2 separate regions of the Homo sapiens genome follow, and region 1 is linked to region 2. Evidence: promoter capture Hi-C in 16 types of primary human blood cells and fetal thymus (Javierre and others, 2016). All regions are on one chromosome and are shown on one strand. The core of a region is centred on a gene start or on the middle of the fragment in contact, and the rest is flanking DNA. Distances in the headings are between cores, read along the strand shown.

Region 1 (6,845 bases), core at 3,453-5,952, 260 kb after region 2:
TAGAGTTCATAAGAAATTTCAGCAATTATCTCGATAAAACCTTTTATAGGAAAATTTTTTCCTAGTGCAGATCCGACCCAAGAACGAGCATTGATTGTATTTGATTGTCCTTTTTGTTGCCTTTAATCTGGAACAGGTTCACAGCCTTTGTTTTCTGTAAGGTTGTTTTTTTTTTGAGAAGTGTAAGAATTATTTATTGGATTGTTTCTCCGTTTGGGTTTATCTTATAGATGCTTCTTCGTTAGATTGATTATGCATTTTTGGCAGGAGCATGAGATGAGTGATGTGTGGCCTGCTGTGGGGAGGAACATGACGTTGGTTTGTCACATTATTGATGATATTAGTTTTGATCACTTGGTTAAGATGGTGTCTACAAGATTTCTCCACTCTAACCTTTGTAATTAATACATAATTTGTGGGGAAATATTTTGAGACAGTAAATTGATTTTTAGTATACAAATTAAATCTTTTCTTTTTTTTTTTAGTATGATTTTTCAAATTTTTATCAGTCTAAGTATAAGAGAAGAACTCTAACCTCCCCAGGTAAGCCGGTATTTTGTATATTTGGGGGTTTCAAAAATTTAATTTGAGGCTGGGCGCGGTGGCTCACGCCTGTAATCCCAGCACTTTGGGAGGCCGAGGCAGGCGAATCACCTGAGGTCAGGAGTTCGAGACCACTCAGGCCAACATAGTGAAATCCCGTCTCTACTAAAGATACAAAAAATTAGCCGAGCATGGTGGCGGGCGCCTGTAATCCCAACTGCTGGGAAGGCTGAGGCAGGAGAATCGGTTGAACCCGGGAGGCAGAGGTTGCAGTGAGCCGAGATGGCGCCACTACACTCCAGCCTGGGCAACAAGAGCGAAACTCAGTCTCAAAAAAGAAAAAAATAGGCTGCGCGCGGTGGCTCACGCCTGTAATCCCAGCACTTTGGGAGGCGAGGCGGGCGGATCACGAGGTCAGGAGATGGAGACCATCCTAGCTAACACGGTGAAACCCCGTCTCTACTAAAAAAAATACAAAAAATTAGCCGGGTGTGGTGGCGGGCTCCTGTAGTCCCGGCTACTCAGGAGGCTGAGGCAGGAGAATGGGGTGAACCCGGGAGACGGAGCTTGCAGTGAGCCGAGATTGCGCCACTGCACTCCAGCCTGGGTGACAGAGCGAGACTCCGTCTCAAAGAAAAAAAAAGAAAAAAAAATTTGAGAGAGAAGATTTTAAAAATAGTATTATTTAGACTTATGGCCAGTGCCAGATATTTTGTGATATATTGTTGTGGTAATCTTTCATGGTTTCTTTGTCGTTGACAGGTGATTTGGATATCTACTCTGGAGATAAAGTTGGTTCATCGTTAAAATATTCTGATGAAAGCAAGCATTGTAGAACACCATTGGGCAGCTTATTCAAGCACGTAAATGTGAATTGGTAAAGTACCCTGAAACTTTACTGTTGCTACCCCCTCAGTATCTCAAAAAACTGAGAAAGAGAAAAGGGCAGGTTATATTTTTGCTCTTTCCTGAGGACAAGTATGAGGACAAGTATAAGGCAGTCTGGAGCCTGCTAAATAGTTGAAGCGAGTCACTTATTAATTTTTACTGAGAATCTCTGTAATAAAAGCATAGACCTAGCATTATATTTAGTGGCATAATGGAAAGTTATTTATATAATGTAAAAGATGAAAAAATATATTTTTATGGTTATTCATTCAGGACCCAAATGAAGACTCTGCTCCCTTTCTTTAAAAATTTTTTTTTAGAAAAGGAACTATGGGCCAGGTGCGGTGGCTCACGCCTGTAATCCCAGCACTTTGGGAGGCCGAGGCGGGTGGATCACCTGAGGTCAGGAGTTTGAGACCATCCTGGCCAACATGGTGAAATCCCGTTTCTACTAAAAAATAGAAAAATTAGCCAGGCTTGGTGGTGTGCGTCTGGAATCTCAGCGACTTGAGAGGCAGAGGCAGGAGAATCACTTGAACCCGGGAGGTGGAGGTTGCAGTGAGCTAAGATTGTGCCATTGCACTCCAGCCTGGGTGATGAGCAAAACTGTCCTGAAGAAAGAAAAAACGAACTACAAAAAAAACTGCCATACAGGTTTTGTTAGGCAGCAGCATTTTACTATCTCTGGTGTGTCTGGTATTGTATGCATTGTATTTAGGTGATTGAGAGAGATTGAAGAAGGTGGTCTGGGGAGATGGTAACTACAGGGTATGTAGGATACAGTGCTGGGTTAAAAGAAGTTGCCGTTCTGTAAGGAAGATACTATTTACTATGGGGAAAAAATATAAAAACAGTGGAAGCTAAGGTAAAATAAAGATCTAAGTTGGATATTATTTAATGCTAAAAATATGTGGCAGAAAGAAATGCTATGGGTATCAAGAAGGAGTAAGCATTTTGAAATAAAGATGTATCCATATATAACATGAAATGTTGAAATAATTGTGGAGAGAAAAAATAATTATGCCTAAAGTATCTGTATGTTACATAATTAGTATTTGGGAGCTTGACTTTTTTTAATACAGTTTTCTCTTTCTCTACTTAAATAAGTTAATCTGTGTAACACACTTTGAACAGTTCTGGGTAAATAATAAGTACTCAAATGTTACCTATTATCATTATTATTACTATTTCATGTTGCACTCACAAAATCTAGTTGATCTAGATTTAGGATTTAGACATGAGCTACGTTGAATGTAGGGTAAGGAAAGTGAAAATTGCTTTTAAGGTAATAATTATAAATTTATGGAAATTATTTTCTTTTTAACTGAGTTTTATCATTTTTTATATAATGACCTGGGTATAACTCTAAACTATAATCTAAAGGTTTTGGACTATGAAGGTTTTCATAACATTGGACCCCTAGTTGTGATCTGGTCTGAAACTATGCTGTCCAGCACAGTAGCAACAGGCCACATGTACCTATTGAGTACTTGAAATGGGGCTGGTCTGAATTGAGATATGCTGTAAGTGTCATATACACACTGGCTTTCTAAGACTTAGCATAGATAACAAAAATTAGCCGGGCATGGTGGCGGGTGCCTGTAGTCCCAGCTACTCGGGAGGCTGAGACAGGAGAATTGCTTGGACCCGGAGGCAGAGGTTGCAGTGAGCCGAGATCGCGCCACTGCACTGCAACCTGGGTGACAGAGTGAGACTCCGTCTCAAAAAATAAATAAATAGGCATGGATAAAATAATGTAAAATATCTTAATTTTGTGTGGGTGTATGTGGGTTTGCAGGGGGCGAGCCTGTTGCCCAGGCTGTGAGTGCAGTAGCATAATTGTAACTCACTGTAGCCTCCAACTCCTGGGCTCAAACGATCCTCTCACCTCAGGCTCCTGAGTAGCTGGGACTACAGACGTGCACCACTACTCCCAGCTAATTTATTTTATTTATTTTTCTTTTTGTAGAGACAGAGTCTCACTGTGTTGTCCAGGCTGATCTTGAACTCCTGGGCTCAAGAGATACTCCCACTTCGGCCTCCCAAAGTGCTGAGATCACAGGCGTGAGCCACCATGCCTGTTCTATCCTAATAATTTTTAACATTGATTACATGTTGAAATGATAAACTTTTAGATATATTATATTAACTAATATTTTTAAAATTTATTTTTTTAACGTGCTACTAGAAAATTTTAAATTACCTATATGACTTGTGTTATATTGCTTTTGAACAATACTATTCCAAAAATTTCAACTCAGATTGTCTTTTTGGAGACAACACCTGGAATTCTAGTTCTGCTCCACTTTCTACTCGTTATGTCACCCATCAGTTATTTGACTTACTTAGGTTTAGTTTACTTATGTATATTATTTTAGCTAAAACTACCTTATAGATAACAGATTATTGGGAGTCAAAATAAAGTGTTCCTTAGCTGTAGAATATACCACAGGTAGGTATATGTCATTTTAAATTAAGTCTATTTAATGTGTAGAAAAAGATGCTTGTAGTGGGTTATCAATGATCAGTGACTGTTAGTTTTTACGTTTTTTCTTTTTACATGTTTACATTTTGCAGTTTAAAAAATGTTTTTACATTTTTTCTCAGTTATGCTGTTAATATTTGAAAAGCAGTTTTATCTTTTTAAAGTGCTATAGTAAACTTCTAGATTGCTGTGATACAATTATTTTTTTAAAGCCTAGATGATGAACTGGATTCTTTCCATGATTTGAAGAAACAGGAAACAGAAGAAGAGTTAATTGAAAATGATTATAGAGTTAGTACCTCGAAAATAACCAAGCAGTCTTTTAAAGAAATAGAAAAAGGTAAAATAAATATTTTAGAACAATCAATTCAGTAGTAACTTTGTCAAGTAGAGTAAATGAAGCTTCCCTCCTAGTAATAACACTGGCCCCCAAGAGTTTGCATATTTCTGTGTTCTGAACTTCTGTAAGCTAGGAGATAGTTACTGTGCTTATTATTAAACTAAAGGAGCAGAGAAAATTAAACTTCATTATTTTTCAGTAATATTCCTGTACCCTCAAAATTTATCAAAATAAGTTAATAACTGAGTAGATGATTGTGGTAGTATTTGACTACAATATTTTGAGAAAATACTCCAGATTATTTGAAGTATGGATTTCTGGGCACTGAACTGCCAGCAGTTTTCTGTGTATCTGGCTGCATTTCATAGTTGTGGCGGGATTTCAAGGAATGAGACAACCAGAAATGGCACCCTTCACCCTCTGGGCTACAAGACTTTGAGTTGCCCTGTTGATAATACTGGTGCTGGTATTATGGTCTACACACAACAACATTCATTTTCCTCTTTTCCCTCTCCTTTGTTTTCCTTTGTCCCATTATTCTCATCATTTGAGGAAGATGAAAAATAATTCTGTCGGGACTTGAGTTTCCTGCTATATGGTCGATTTTCCCAGTGGAAAACATGGGATAAGGTATAAAGAAAATGTTGCTTGTATTCCATTAAAAGTAATGGCAAAAGCCACAATGACTTTTGCACCAACCTCATATTTGAAAGTAGACAAAATTAAGAAATGCTCGGGCCAGGGATTGGTGAGTCGGGAACCTAGACAGGCAAGTAGAGCTCTGTGAATGTGCCTTTCACTTTTAGGGCATTTGCTGAACTGAGTGAAGTGAAGCTTTTCATTTTAAAAAATTCATACTATGTTTTATTTTTACTTCTCCGTTGTCTGTTCAAAATGGAGTATAATGGAAGACACACCCCCCTCCTTTTTTAAAGCTGGGGCTTCCATGAGTCTAGTGCAAGTTAAAACCACTGAGCGTCGGCCAGGCGCGGTGGCTCACGCCTGTAATCCCAGCACTTTGGGAGGCCGAGGCGGGTGGATCACGAGGTCAGGAGATCGAGACCATCCTGGCTAACACGGTGAAACCCTGTCTCTACTAAAAATACAAAAAATTAGCCAGGCATGGTAGCACGTGCCTGTAGTCCCAGTTACTCGGGAGGCTGAGGCAGGAGAATCACTTGAACCCGGGAAGCGGAGGTTGCAGTGAGCTGAGACTGTGCCACTGCACTCCAGTCTGGGCGACAGAGAGACTCTGTCTCAAAAAAAAAAGCAAGGCCGGGCACGGTGGCTCGTGCCTGTAATCCCAGCACTTTGGGAGGCAGAGGTGGGCGGATCACGAGGTCAGGAGATCCAGACCATCCTGGCTAACACGGTGAAACCCTGTCTCTACTAAAAAAAAAAATAACAAAAAAATTAGCCGGGCTTGGTGGCTGGCCCCTGTAGTCCCAGCTGCTCGGGAGGCGGAGCTTACAGTGAGCCGAGGTCGCGCCACTGCACTCCAGCCTGGGCGACAGAGTGAGACTCCGTCTCAAAAAACAAAACAAAACAACAACAAAAAAACACTGACCGAGAGCATTTTATACTCTAATTGTTAAAAGAAAATAAATTCTGACAGTATAGTGCTGGCAAGGATATCAAGCAAGAGGAACTCACCTACTGCTGTTGGGAGAGTAAATTGATACAGCCACTTTGGAAAACAATTTGGCATCACTAGTAAAGTTGAATCTGCACATATACCCTATGATCTAGCAATTTTGCTACTACTTATATACCCTCAGGAAACTTTTTTTTGTTTTGTTTTGTTTTTTTTTTGAGATGGAGTCTCGCTCTGTCGCCCAGGCTGGAGTGCAGTAGCGCGATCTGGGCTCACTGTAAGCTCCGCCTCCCGGATTCACGCCACTCTCCTGCCTCAGCCTCCCGAGTAGCTGGGACTACAGGCACCCGCCATCACGCCCGGCTAATTTTTTTTTTTTGTATTTTTAGTAGAGACGGGATTTCACCGTGTTAGCCAGGATGGTCTCAATCTCCTGACCTCATGATCCGCCCGCCTCGGCCTCCCAAAGTGCTGGGATTATAGGCGTGAGCCACCGCGCCCTGCCACCCTCAGGAAACTCTTAAACTTGTACACCAGAAGCCACGTACGAGACTGTAGCATCTGTATAGCCAAATCAGCTCAAATTTCCACCTATAGGAGGATGCTGTATACAGTGTTTGCAAAATAGGATATACAGTGAAGATTTGTGAACCTGTTTAAAAGAAGAGGTTATAGAAATTATGTTAATATAATTACATATAAAATATAAAAGGCAAAACAAGCAAGGACTTTTAAGATTAAGTAGTGGAGATTAAACAGCAAAGCAAAGCAGCATGTAACACTTACTTGCATTAGTGGTAAATTTGGTTTAGGGGAGAGAGGGGAACATGATTAGGGGCTTTTAAGGTTGCTTTCCATTTCTTGGCAATTAGTGTCTTTTTATATCCTTTAAAATATTTTATTTTGAAATCATTTCAGACTTACAGAAAAGTTGCAAAGATAGTGCAATCAATTGCTGTATACCCTTCACCCAAATTTTCGATGTTACCACTTTA
Region 2 (6,434 bases), core at 230-2,729:
GCCTCTCCAAGTGCTGGGATTACACGCGTGAGTCACCGTGCCCGGCCTACATTTATCAATTTTTAATTTTATGGTTTATATGCTCTTTGAAAAGTCTCTCACCACTCCAACCTTACTTTTGTTTTTTTCCCTTGTTTTCTTCTGGTATTTTCATAACCTCTCTCTTTTTTTTTTTTTTTTTTTTTGTTTTTTGAACATTTAACTATTTGCTTTGTTTGGAATTTACTTTCATGTGAGGACATCAAATAGATCCAGTGTTTTCCTCCGACATGCCTCGACTGGCAGGAGACCAAAGTTTTCATTCTATTACTAGAGAGTAGCTATAGTTACAGAATCAGGTATCCTGAGAGAGATCATTTATGCCCAGGATGAATAACTTGTCTTATCTATTAAATCTATTAAATCCTTTGGAGATTTCACTTTTTTTTTTTTTTTTTTTTGGGACGGAGCCTGTTACCTAGGCTGGAGTGCAGTGGCGCGATCTCCCAGCTCACCACAAGCTCCGCCTCCCAAGTTCAAGCGATTCTCCTGCCTCAGCCTCTCGAGTAGCTGGGATTACAGGCATGTGCCACCACCACGCCCGGCTAATTTTGTATTTTTAGTAGAGACGGGGTTTCTCCATGTTGGTCAGGCTGGTCTCGAACTCCTGACCTCAGGTGATCCGCCTGCCTCAGCCTCCCAAAGTGCTGGGATTACAGGCGTGAGCCACTGCGCCGGCCCCAAAATTTCAGGTTTTGATAGACGGAATGGGTGAAGAAAATGAGAGCTAGCAAGGAAGAACAGGATGCAGAGGCAAGACTGGAAACTCTCCAAGAAAGGTTAACTTTTCTTAACTCACAAGTTAAACAAAGGCTGCAGGCTCCATGCGGAGCTCAGGCACCCAGCGGTGACCGATCCAGACCAGGTCCTCCCGGAAGCCCGGCCTGCCCGACAGAGCCTTACCACAGAGCCCCCTCAGGCGTCCTCGCCAGGACGGGGCGGAACCCTGTGTAGCTCCCACCCCCGGGACGAAGGCCGCTGCCAGGGCCGCGCAGCCACGCGAGTGGAATCAGAGGAGCCTCGAGGCAAGGAGAGCCGGGCCCCGCTCCCTGCGCCCGTCACCGCCATCCTTGTTGTAGGGAACTCGGCCCCCGAGCCGCCGCCGCGCTCCGTGGGCTCCCAATGAGCCCCTACCCCAGCCACCCGCTGCGTTTGCGCCAGCCTCCCAGACTAGCCTGGGGTGCTGAAATGGGGGCGGGCCCGAGCCACGGGTTGGGGCGGGGTCTGATGCGCGCCCCGCCCCGCAACGCCCCGCCCCCCCGCGCCTACCTCTCCAGTCCGCGCCCTTCGGCGCCCGCCCCGCCAGTCCCCGCCCCTCCTTGCCCAGCCGCTCCCGCCCCTCCCCCGCCTTCCCGCGCGGCCCGCCTCGCCTTCCCCCCCCTCCCGCGCCCCCGCGCGGCCGGCCCCTGGCCTTCCTCCCCTTCCTGCTCCGGGCCCGCCAGTAGCCGGCCGCGGCGGCGAGGGACTAGGACGCGGCTGGAGCGGCGCCGGGAGACGAGGGGCTGAGAGACGGCGGCGGCCGAAAGCGGAGAGATGCTGGGCGTGGCGGCCGGGATGACCCACAGGTACGGGCCGCACCGCGCGGCCCCCGCCACGTCCGCCCCGCAGCTCCCGGCGGGCCTTCGGGCCGGGCCGGGCCGGGCCTGGCGCGGGCGGGCGGCCGGGCTTTCCCCGCGGCCTCCCCCGGTCGGCCGGAGCCCCGACCCCCAGCGCTCGGGTGGCGGCGTGGCTGCGTCCGGGCCCGCGGAGGAGACGGCTGCTGTTCACTCCCGGGTGTCCGCGGTGGCACAGGCGCTGACGCCGCCCCGCTGCTCCGAGAGTTCCATAAGACAAATCAGTATTTGCCGAGCTAATCATTTATCTTCTAGCAGTAGGGATCAGCGGGTCGCAGACGTCTTGGTCTCAGGACCCCTCTTGGGACTAGAGGACCTGGAATGGTGGCTATCTCCATAGACTGTACTAGAAAGGAAAACCGAGACACTGAAGTTACTATTAACTCATTGAATAAATCCGTGGTATGTTAACGTACATACCACATTTTTATGCAACATAGGGTTTTGCTAAAACAAAAGAGTTCGTGGGACGACTGGCGTCCTTTACAGTTTGCGAATCTCTTGAGTTGTCTGACTTAGTAGAGACAACTACGTTCTCCCATCTCCTTTGCAGTTCAGTCTGTTGCGGTATGTTTTTATATGAAGAAAATCTGATCTTACACAGATGTGTAGTTGGAAAAGTGAGTACTGTCTTAATAGCTGTTTCAGATAATTATGGGTATTCTTTATTACTACACCAAAACTACGTAAGTGGAAGTTTCTCAAAGGCTGGTTTGGACGTGGAATCTGAAGCTACTGTCAGCGGACTTTTCACACAGTTTCGTTAAAATTCCTTGGTCTGTCTTGCAGTTTGAATGCAGCTAAAGCTCCTGTCAGTGGCCTTTGCACACAGTTACGTTAAAATTCCTTGGTCTGTCTTGCAGTTTGAATGCAGCTGTTACCCATTGTAACACCATATATTTGTCGTTTGGAAGATATTGGCTCACTGAGTTTGGCAGATCTCAAGCTGACGCATTTCATTAATAGCGCCGAATAACATTCGTTACCATCGCTATTGATTTCATTAGGAAAGTCTTTATGTTAAAAGCCGTCAGATACAAGGTGGTGTTTACAAGTTTTCCAAAATTCTCATTTTCGGTTGAAAGCTTGCTTTTTATCATTGGGAGCAAAATATTGTCAATTGTTTTCCTCAAAGTGACAGACTCACTTTGTTCAGTTTCAAGGAAGTGTCCGGCAATACAGGTTTAAATAACCCTAGTTTGTCAGTTGTTCTTTCCCGTAAAAATGGTATTTCATGACACAAGCAAGTTAATTCAGCTCATCGCTCTATTACAGAAGTGCACGCCTGCCATTTGGTCACAAGTAACAAAAAAGAGTCAAAGCTCAAGATTTGATAACAATAATTTGTACTCCTTCATCATGGACTTTTTTCCTTAAAAAAAAGTATTGACTAGTAAGTTGATATAAAATTTAAAGTATTTGTGAGATATTAAGAATAACGGATATGTAGTGTAATAAAGGAGATAATAGTTTCCTTTTAAGACCTTCAAACCTCTCTGGTCCAGTGTCTCTCCGCATCCTATCCCCTTCCCATCCTGAATTTACCATTAGTAATTTACTTTTTGGAGGGAGAGTAATAAGTTCATTCAAATTATTGTGCATCCGTAACCATCATACATGTCCAGAAATCTTTATCTTACAAAACTGAAACTCTGTACCTATTAAACAATAATTCTCCATTCCCCTCCTCCCGCCAGTCCCTGGCAGCCATCATTTTAATTTCTGTCTATGACTTTGACTACTGCTGGTACCTCATATCTCATGTAAGTGGAATCATACGCTATTTGTTGTGCATGTCATAGTTTGTTCCTTTTTGTTGCTCAGTAGTGCTCCATGGTATGGATGTACAGCAGTTTAACTGTTCACATGTTTGAAGGACATTCAGGCTGTTAGTTTTGGGCTATTAAGAAAGCTACTACGAACAAATAGACAGGTGTTTGTTGTTGTTTTTGAGACAGTGTCTTGCTTAGTCACCCAGACTGGAGTGGAATGCAGTAGCATGATCATGACTTACTGCACCCTAGACCTCCCAGGCTGAAGCAATCCTTCCACCTCAGTCCCCCAAGTAGCTGGGACTACAGACACACGCCACCATGCCTGGATAATTTTTGTATTTTTTTGGTAGAAACAGGGTTTCGCCATGTTGTCCAGGCTAGTCTGGGGGTCCCAAACTCCTGGGTTCCAGCAGTCCACCCACCTCAGCCTCCCAAAGTGCTGGAATTTTAGAGCCACTGTGCTCAGCCTGTCTAAGTTTTATGTGAATGTAACTTTTCCTTTTCTGGGATAAATGTCCAAGAGTGTGCAATTGGCAGGTTGTACAGAAATCGTATGTTTAGTTTTTTGAGAAACTGACAGTTTTTTTCCAGCATGACTGTACCATTTCACTTAAAAAGTGAAATTGACATTATTTTCCTGTGAGTACATAAAGGTAAAGAATTCAGGGACAGTACCACGGCCCTCTTTAGTGCTAAGCGGCCAGCAGTTGTACCGACTGTTGTTTTTGCACTATCTGTGTGTCAACACAGTCCACAATGCTACAGTGACTTCTTAGGAATATCTTAGTATGATGAAAATAGTTTTGATCTCTCGGATCCCTTAGAAAGGTCTTGGAGACCCTCAGGAGTTCAAGGCCATACTTTAAGAACCACTGTTAAAGACATAATCCTAAATGATGAAGGATATGCAGGTATTGGGGATATTTAAAAAGGAACAAATACAAGGTTTCTCTTAAAATTGCTCTTGAATGCTTGTGGTAGTGTGTGCCTTGTAGTTTTGGCTAGTTTTAGTAGGATGTAATAACTAAGACTTGGACCACCATGGAAGAAGCAACTTTCTGCCTTTCAGGATTTTCCCTGATAAGAAAATGGCCAGTGCCATTATGAAGAGGGACAATGCCATGGGCCTAAGTGTATTCACACTTTTCAGTGCTCTGTGCCTGTTTGTATGGTGAGAAAATCGAACTGTTGATTTTTAAGAAAGCTAAGGAAAGTTTGGTGGTACAAAAGATCATTTCAGTTCTGGTGGTTCCGGTTTTTGCAGGCTTAGAGAAAACTGTCCATCAGGATTGTGCTGTCTTGATTTTATTTGATCATTCCCACCCTTTTCCCTTTGCTGTAGCCCCTTGACCTGTCTCCTGGGCAGTTCTTTCCTTTGCTAAATGTGAGTACAACAAGTAGGCTTTCCTTTCCTCCTAGAGAGGGGGACCTTGGAGCCCCTCCACTGGGTCAGAGAAACTTCCATAGCTGCAGCAGATCAGTAACAGGAGAGCCGAGCTTTACTCTGAAAGCCTCTATTTTCAATAATGTTGTGTTTGCTCTTTGGATAATCATTTAAATAAATAAACCTCAGTATAGGTCATGTTCTTACCTAGGTTTGCACTTAAATAGAAGGAAAAACATCTCAAACCATTTTGTTAGTTTTATAGTTCTCGTAACTACACTTTAAGCTGTGGTTTTCCACCCACAGGGATGTCATCTACATTATATGCTGGACTGTTGCCACATTGTCTTCCAAAAACTTTAATTTTAAGACACTTGAGAAGCAGGAGCTGCACTACCTGTTGCCATATACTGTGCATTCTTCAGCAACAGAGGTTTCCTTTTCACTCTTTCTGATATAATCTCATCTCTTTTATTTGATCATATCACACATTTCCACCCTGGAGCTTACTGCAGGAATGAGTAAGGGAGTCATTTTCCTGCATCTTTTTTCACGTTGGAGCACGTTTTGGAGCTTGATGAGTCTTCAGTGACATTTAACAGTGGGGCGGGACAGCTGCAGATAAAGCAAGTGCTGAAGAGTGCATTCTGTGAGAGGTAGGAAGAAAGGTGAAGGCAGTAGTTCAGCTGCTGGGAGTATGTGCTTGGCAGTGGGAGGCACGGGACTCAGCATCAGCACACCAGGAATCCAGGGCTTTCAGGATGTCTGAGTAGCAGGCAAGGTAAAGCAAGATAACAGACAACATGCATTTACAAGTAATGTTTACACATACTTTCCCTTTCTACAAAAATGGAATCATAGTCATACTATTCTGCAATTGCTTTTTTTAGTATTAAAAAAGTTACGGGAAAACATGCAAAACAAAATTTACTATTTTAACCATTTTTGAGTGTACAGTTCTGTGGCATTATGTACATTGACGTTGCTGTGCAACCATCACTACCCTTCCTTCCAAGAACTTTTTCATCTTCCCAAACTGAAACTCTGTGACCAGTAAATACCAACTCCCCATTTCTTGCAATTGCTTTTTTACTTCAACAAGCTGTCTTAGAGCGGTGTATCTGGGTTTACCTTATGTTTTTTAACCTTAGTTTTAATGGCTGCATAGTATTTCACAGTGTACATGTGATATGATTTGTACATCCAGTCCTTGACTAGTGGTTATTTGGGTTCTATTTTTTAATTATCACAAACACTTTGAACATCTCTGCCAGAGTGTTTTTTGTTTTGTTTTGTTTTTGAGACAAGGTCTCACTCTGTCACCCAGGCTGGAGTAAAGTGGTGCAATCATGGCTCACTGCAGCCTCAACCTCCTGGGGTCAGGTGATCCTTTCACCTTAGACTTCTGAGTAGCTGGGACAACAGGTACATGCCACTATGCCCGGCTAATATTTTGTATTTTTTGTAGTGACAGGGTTTCCCCATCTTGCCCAGCCTAGTGTTGAATTCCTGGCCTCAAGCGATCCGCCCTTCTCGGCCTCTCAAAGTTCTGGGATTACAGGCGCGAGCCACTGCACCCAGCTACCAGAGTTTTCATAGCTTTCTGAGTGTAGAGTTAGTATG

What was found. Contacts are between HindIII fragments. The CHiCAGO score rates a contact against its expected background, and 5 or more counts as called.
Region 1: a fragment that was not itself captured here is called in contact with the fragment with the promoter of LIMS1 in region 2 in 7 of 17 cell types (neutrophils, naive B cells, total B cells and 4 more); the score reaches 7.3 in neutrophils.

What each region holds. Positions count from the first base shown.
Region 1 is chr2:108,787,547-108,794,391 of GRCh38, forward strand. It overlaps CCDC138 (coiled-coil domain containing 138), which reads left to right. Exons shown (of 15, transcript NM_144978.3): 2 at 486-543; 3 at 1,306-1,420; 4 at 4,129-4,256. It also overlaps a transcript of RANBP2 not described here. Among named protein-coding and RNA genes, the nearest start is that of CCDC138, 4.2 kb to the left of the region's middle. RefSeq lists a silencer at 3,140-3,314. The HindIII fragment of the contact is 772 bases long and covers 4,317-5,088 here.
Region 2 is chr2:108,532,991-108,539,424 of GRCh38, forward strand. LIMS1 (LIM zinc finger domain containing 1) reads left to right here and starts at 1,480. Exons shown (of 10, transcript NM_001193483.3): 1 at 1,480-1,604. The coding sequence starts at 1,573. GCC2-AS1 (GCC2 antisense RNA 1) reads right to left here and starts at 1,229. Exons shown (of 3, transcript NR_135290.1): 1 at 839-1,229. RefSeq lists silencers at 343-637, 1,126-1,725. The HindIII fragment of the contact is 7,547 bases long and covers 1-2,735 here.